Linked DNA regions of Homo sapiens: region 2 is linked to region 1. The links are contacts of gene promoters, found by promoter capture Hi-C in blood cells and fetal thymus (Javierre and others, 2016). All regions are on one chromosome and are shown on one strand. The core of a region is centred on a gene start or on the middle of the fragment in contact, and the rest is flanking DNA. Distances in the headings are between cores, read along the strand shown. Region 1 holds the start of FANCD2 (FA complementation group D2). Region 2 overlaps RAD18 (RAD18 E3 ubiquitin protein ligase).

Region 1 (3,781 bases), core at 960-3,459:
AATGTTTCAAAAAAAAAAAAAAAAAAATTCTGACAGGTATTAAACCAAAGCTGAAAAATACATGAATAAAATATATTAGACTAGGTTTGGGGATAGAATGTGTGTAAAAAATGGTTCTCGAACTTGAAGAATATACTACTGACTTTTTGGAAAGGAGAAGACATAGATTCTTAAGAATATGGAACTCTGGTTTGAGAGGTACCGAGTTTAAAGTTTTATTCTAAGACAATGTCATTTAGGCCTGGTACAGTGGCTCACACTTATAATCCCAGCACTTTGGGAGGCTGAGATGGGAGGATCCCTTGAGCCCAGGAATTTGAGACCAACTGGGCAACATAGTGAGACCCTGTCTCTGCCAAAAATAAATAGATGTCTTTCAGTTACAAATTACAAAGCTTTATCTTTATAACAGTACAAGGACTTATTTTTAGATATTCACAAAAATAAAAATACAAAATTAAAAATTTCTTGCGGAATTTGCAAACTTCAGATAACACAGATATTGAGTGTTTAGAAAATACAGGATAATTTAAGATTGCTTATTTAGGGTCTTAAAATACCTCAGGGTCATGATATTCAACTCCATTTCTACAAAACTATTCAGCAGCGTAAATATAGGAGAGCTAGATGAATTTCTTTTGATTACACTGCCTGGAAAAGTCTTGAATTATCGTAGACTGAACAAGTGTTTTTTCGTTTGTTTTTCTGGAGACAGGGTCTTGCTTTGTCACCCAGGCTGGACCAAAAAGGTCGAGGCTGCAGTGATTGAGGCTGCAATCGCAGTGGTGCGATCATGGCTCACTTCAGCCTCGAACTCCCGGGCTCAAGTGATCCTCACACCTCAGCCTCCCGAGTAGCTGGGACTACAGGCACACACCACTGCACCTGGCTAATGTTTAAATTTTTTTGTAGAGACAGTGGTCTCATTGTGTTGCCCAGGCTGGTCTTGAACTCCAGGGCTCAAGCGATCCTCCCACCTCAGCCTCCCAAAGTATTGAGATTACAGGTGAGAGCCACCACGCCTGGCTGTGAACAAGTTTTTTGATGGCCTACCATGTGCCTTGCACTCTGCTGCATGCTATGGGGTATAGAGTAAGGCAAGGTCATGACCCTGCGCTCAGAGTTTCTGTTCAAGTGATAAAATATGCAAACGGAAAAATAATAGATACTTAATCTAGTGCAACAAGAGCGAAACTCCGTCTCAAAAATTAAATTAAGTTAAATTAAATAAATAAATAAATACTGCAATGAAGTATGTGAGGAAGTTGCCTCCACCCTAGGAAGGGAAATGATAATTACAATTCCTTACATGTCTAACAGCAGTGTTACAGATTGCAAAGCGCTTTGGTGCTTAGCATCTCAGCTAACCATTGGAACAGTAATTTGGTAGAATGCAGATTATCACACTCACTTGACTGGATGTTACAAATACTAAAAGCTATAAAGCACCAGGCACTCTTCCCAACGAAAGGGTGGGATGGGATAGTTCATAGGTAAACCCACCGAGGGTTGGCGACTAACCTAAAGGATTAACAGCACCGTTTTTGTTTTTTGTTTTTAACACTCAATACGTCCTAGATCCTGTGCTAAGGGATTTACAGACATCATCTAATTTGATTCCCACCTGTCTATGAGGGAGGTACTGTTATTATCCCCATTTCACAGAGGACAAAAGTGAAACACAGAGGTAACGGGTAAGGTCACCTTGCCAGTGGGGGCGAGACGTGAACCTAGGCAAACTGACACAACGCCTGCACTTTCTTGTCCAAGGTCACGGCGGTGTGAGGTAGGCTGGGGAAGGGAGGGCGCTGACCTGTCAGATACTTGTTCCTGGGTGAGCTTCTTGTCGCTCTCCAGCAGGATGGACACGTAGTGGCGGATCATGTCTACGAAGAGTGATAACGATGGGTAGGACCACCCAGAGGCAGATGTTGGAGTCAAGCAACAGTTCTGGCCCTGCCATCTTCACTGAAAGCTGGCTCCCAGCCGGTGATGGGCGAGCTTCTCTTCACCGGGGCGCAGTTGCTTCTCTCTGACGTCGCCTCTGGGCCTTCTCTCGCCCCTATGCCCGGCTAGCACAGAACTCTGCTGCAGCGGTGAGCCCAGCTTATTGCCTTCAGCTGGGCTGCCCGGCCTTCCACTTCCGGCGCGGAAGTTGGCGTCACGTCATGGCGCGCCTCGGTGGCGTCAGAGCGGCGTCGGGCCTGGCGGGAAAGTCGAAAACTACGGGCGGCGACGGCTTCTCGGTGAGTAAGTGGAGCAATGGTCGTAGTCTCTCGAGGCCCCGCTCCCCTGCGGCCTAATCTCTAAGTCCGGGCCGCGGTCGGCGTTCTCCTCTGGGGCTCCGCGCCCCGAACCTTGGCTTCCTCATCTGCCCTGAGATGGGATAATCCCCACAGGTACCTTTCTGCGTCATTAAAATGCGGAAACGAGAAAGGCTTTTACCCTCACCCGCTTCCCGATGAACTAATCCAGGCAGTCGGCCTCATCTCACTTCTGTTGGGCTTTTCTGGAAGCCAGATGGTATCGCACGTGTTAAAGGCGGGTGCCTGGAAGCCGGACGTGCTGACAAGACTTAGTTTTTCCATCTGCAAGATGGCTGATAATGGTTATCCGTATTAACCGAAGCGGCGATAAATAAAAAGTTTAGCACAGGGCCCGGTACCTCGTAAATGTTAACCATTATTAGAAGTCATTATAATCATCAAGAGTAAGTATAGGTGGTGAAGAGCGCAGGTGCTGAAGCCAGACTCCGAGTTAGAATCCCAGTTCTGCCCGTGATGATGAGAATAATGGTACCCACCTCAAAAAGTTTTGTGGGAAATAAATGAATTATTAAATATAAAGCACTTGAAACAGTTCTTGTTAGCTTTTAGCATTTCCCCTGCACTGCGAGCTTTTTTCACTCTGAATATTCTCAGAAATTTTCCTTATGCCGGTAACTATGCTGGGCATTAGGGACATTGAGTAAGTGAGACTGGGTTCCTGCTCTCAAAGAGCCCCAGTCTAGTGTGAGGTAAGGGCCCCTAGGTATACCCTGTGGAGCAGGGAAGCTGCAGTAGCAAACTCCCTTAGGGATAGGAGGAACACTTTTCAAGGAAGATGACATTCGATTGAATGTTTAGATCTGAGTAGGAATTTCCAGGCAAATAAGAGCACTTCAGATGAAAAGAACACCTTTGTGCAAAGGCACTGAGACCACGAAGGTTCTGATTTACAAGATTAAAAGGTCATGTGATTCAGGCACTTCCCCCACCTCTGCTGTCTGATTTCTAACTCCACATCTCCTTGTTTCAGTATGAGTATCTATTTGCCTGGACTCCTCTTCTCCTACCCCTTCTACTGGCTAACTGCTGTTTCAGCCCTCAAGTCCCTGCCTAAAAATCACTTCTTCAGGCCGGGCGCGGTTGGCTCACGCCTGTAATCCCAGCACTTTGGGAGTCCGAGGCGGGCGGATTATGAGGTTATGAGATCAAGACTATCCTGGGTAACACGGTGAAACCCCGTCTCTACTAAAAATACAAAAAATTAGCCGGGCGTGGTGGCGGGCGCCTGTAGTCCCAGCTACTTGGGAAGCTGAGGCAGGAGAATGGTGTGAACCCGGGAGGTGGAGCTTGCAGTGAGCCGAGGCTGCACCACTGCACTCCAGCCTGGGTGACAGAGTGAGACTCCGTCTCAAAAAAAAAAAAAAAAAAAATCACTTCTTTAGGCCGGGCGGCTCACACCTGTAATCCCAGCACTTTGGGAGGCCGAGGTGGGTGGATCACTTGAGGTCAGGAGT
Region 2 (3,781 bases), core at 635-3,134, 1.1 Mb before region 1:
ACAATAACATAGAATTAAAACAATATACTATAACAAAAGTTATGTAAATGTGGTCTTTCTCTCAAAATATCTTGTGCTGTACTGTAGATGGTACTGTAGATCTTAGCAACCTCAGCATACAATTTTCTTTCCTTTCCTTGTTAAGAACTTTCACCTTTTCACTTAAAGGAAGCATTTTATGGTTTCTCTTTGTCATATCCGAATTGCCAGCATCATTACTCTTGTGCTTTGGGGCTACTATTAAGTAAAATAAGCGCTACTTGACACAATTACTGTGTTCTGCAACACAGTGACAATTACTGCCATGCTGCAACAGTCAATCTGGTAACCAGGATGGTCACTAAACGATTAACGGTAGATAGCATATGTAACATCAACACACTTGACAAAGGGATGATTCCCATCCTGGGCAGGACGGCACAAGATTTCATCAGTGCTTTACTTAGAACAGAGTGCAATTTAAAACTTATGAATTATTTATTTCCAGAATTTCCCATTTAGTATTTTCAGAATGCAGTTGACCACAGGTAACTGAAATCACAGATAAGGGGGGACTACAGTACAAAGCCAGTCTGTAACAAAGCCACTGTGAGGGAGTGAGGCCCTGTCTCCCAAACAAAACAAAACAAAAACAACGTTATTAGCTATGTCACAAAATAAAGGAAGAAAATCATATGAGCATCTCCATAACTGCAGAAAATACTTGACAAAATTCAACACCCATTCATGATTTAAAAAAAAAAATCCTCTCGCCTAACCAGGGGTAGAGAAGTGCCTCAACTTGGTAGGTTTATGAAAACATATTAAGAATATAAAAAAAACTTACAGCTAACATCATACTTAATGGTAAAAGACTGAATGCTTTCCCCAAAAAATTAAGAGTAAGGACAGGATGTCCCTCCACACCACTTTCAACACTGTAGTTGAGGTACCAGCCTGTGTAACAAAAAGAAACATAAAGGCATATAGATCAGAAAGGAATGAGTAAAACTGTCTTTATCCACAAATGACATGATTGTGTATGCAAAAATTTCTAAGGAATCAACAAAAAAGATGCTGGAATTAAAGTGAATTTACTGCAGTCAGAAGACGAAAGGTCAATATAAGTTATATTTCTTTGTGCAAGGTCTGTGCAATGAAAATCAAACAACACTGTTGAGAGAAATAAAGATAGAGAAGTGTATCATATTCATACACTGAAGACTCGGCATTGTTAAGATGTCAATTCTCCCAAATTGATCTCTAGATTCAATACAATTCCAGTGAACATCCCAGCAGGCTTTTGGTAGAAATTGACAACCTGATTTTAAGTTATACATGGAAATGCATTTAAAATGCAACGATCCTAAAAAAAACGAAGAAAAAAAAGTTGGAGGACTTACAATGCCTGACTTCAAGACTTACTACAAAGCCACAGTAATCAAGATAGTGTGGTACTGGCACAAGGATAGACATATATGAGTCTAGCATATAAGCATTTTAAAATATTGTACCTTGAGGTATTTACTGCAATAGGGGTTATCCTATCATTGTTCAGGAGTTAGACAAACAGTTTACAGATTATTTAGGTTCATGCTCTTTCCTGTTCTCTATTTTCAAGTTGATTTATCTTGGAAAGCTAAAGCAACAGTAAACTTAGGCCTAAACAATTGGTTTTAGTGGGCAGTAGTTTTGGTGAAAAACTACTAAGTTTCTAAGATCAATGGAATAGAAGAGTCCAGAAATAGACTACAGATGGCTAGCTGAGGTCATACTGACTGAGATGGGGAGAAATTTATCAGATAATGAAAATGTTCAGTATCTTAATTGCAGTAGTAACACAGCATACACATTTGTCAAAATTCATGAACACTTTTATACCTTAATGTGCACTTAAAATGGATGTATTTTATTGTATGTAAATTACACCCAAATAAAGATGATGTTAAAATATATTTTAAAACAATCTCCAAAACTTATCTTGGTTTTTAATGTGAATCTTGTCTGGAAGAAAACTAACATTGTTAAGGACTCATAATGTGCCGGACAGTGAGTTCTGCACATTTAATTCTCACAAACATTTTCTAAAGTAGTAAATTCTCACCCGATTTTCAAGAGTCAAGCCCAAGGGCATCTGCAATGCCCGTGCTGCCGTCACTGCTACCCTCTTACTATGTCTTCTCCACAGAAACTTTTCCACCAAAGCTACTACCAACTAAAACCAATTTCTTAGGCCTAAGTTGACTGTTTTTAACTTTCCAAGATAAATCAACTTGAAAATAGAGGACAAGAAAGATCATGAACCTGAATAACCCATAAACTGTATGTCTAGCTCCTCAACAATGATAGGGTAACCCCTATGCACTAAATATCTTAAGGTACGATATTTTTAAATGCTTATATACTAGACTCTTAAAGAGAAGTACAAACAAATTCCAACATGAGTCTTTCCAGCGTCACATAGCAGTTAAGGTATAAAACTGTCTGTAATAAAGTCAGTGGTAGAATTCTCCCACTGGGGCAATATTCTTATTGTTACAGATTTTTAAACTTTGAAATTCTATATCAAGTACTACTTGGTGGAACCACCTATCTGTTATCCTGTTAAAAACAAAAATTCTGAAACTTAACGTCAAAAAACACTTGGCAAATAAAGAACCACTTATTGTGACCAAAAATTTTACTGCCATAAATGCTATAAGAATCATAAAAATATCAAAGAGGAACGAGGTAGAAAATATAGAAGCCTTGTAAAAACCTTCAATATTCAAGAGGAAGGCAGTGAAAAAGACCTTCTGAAAAACTACAAGATAGAAGAGCTAAAGGTGAAACATAAATATGTGCACATATCTTTGGTGTTAAATTAACACTACCTCATGTAAAAATCGCAATTTACTAACTCACAGGAACAAAACATACTTACAGTTATGTGAACACTGAGGTATTATCATTGCAATGTTGAAATACTCGAAGCAAATTCCACACCGCAGCAAATCATCTATTGTCTGAAATGCAAATATGCATATATACATATCAGAAAGACATCAAAATTGGAAGTCCTGTCACAAAACTTTTTCTCTATCCCCTAAAAAAAAAATCAAACTCTTTGTCAAATACACAAATTCAAAAGCTAACTCCAGATAAACTGCAAGGGATCTTGACAAATAAATAAAAACTTCTCTCATATGACTCTTATACATTCAGTCTCAGGTTGCCCAAATTGCTTTAGACAGCTAAAGATGATGGCACACCGATTCTTGTGCCATATTGTCATCCCTTCACATAAGGGCTACTGTACTTCTGTTCCACTTCTAATGCGCTTCCAGCTCTTACTCCAAGCCTCCTCCTCTTCAGACTCCAACACCTAGCCTATAGTCACTATTGGGTGAAAGGTGGCCATTGCCACCACACAAGTTAAGAATCAAATCAAAGAATGTTAAAGCCAAACTCCAGAAACTGTCTAGTCAAAAGAGGAAACTGGTATCAAAAGCAGGCACACAATAGTAGGCATCAGTCAAGCCAAGACCAAAATTCCTGTCTCCCGTCTGGCAGTCCAGTGCTTTCGGCATGGTACTACACATGCAGCCAAATGAGGAAGCCTGGAAAGAGCTGGGGCAGTGAAAGCAGAGGAAGGGAAAGTGGACAACTTGGAAAGAGAGATGTGTGCCAACCTGGAATGCAATCCAAACAGGAACGGAACTACTCTGGCAACCTAAAATCTTTCAAATTGTTTAAAATAAAATATTATTCCATTCAACAGAAATATTTTTTAAAAGGAGGAAGCTCTCGACGGGAGGATCGC

What was found. Contacts are between HindIII fragments. The CHiCAGO score rates a contact against its expected background, and 5 or more counts as called.
Region 2: a contact is called between a fragment that was not itself captured here and the fragment with the promoter of FANCD2 in region 1, in 1 of 17 cell types (neutrophils). The highest score is 5.3, in neutrophils.

Annotation. Positions count from the first base shown.
Region 1 is chr3:10,024,228-10,028,008 of GRCh38, forward strand. It overlaps FANCD2 (FA complementation group D2), which reads left to right and starts at 2,210. Exons shown (of 44, transcript NM_001018115.3): 1 at 2,210-2,246. It also overlaps the pseudogene CIDECP1. RefSeq lists enhancers at 401-1,037, 1,673-2,308, 2,309-2,943. The HindIII fragment of the contact is 7,543 bases long and covers 394-3,781 here.
Region 2 is chr3:8,956,018-8,959,798 of GRCh38, forward strand. RAD18 (RAD18 E3 ubiquitin protein ligase) reads right to left here. Exons shown (of 13, transcript NM_020165.4): 2 at 2,903-2,984. Among named protein-coding and RNA genes, the nearest start is that of RAD18, 5.6 kb to the right of the region's middle. The HindIII fragment of the contact is 8,076 bases long and covers 1-3,781 here.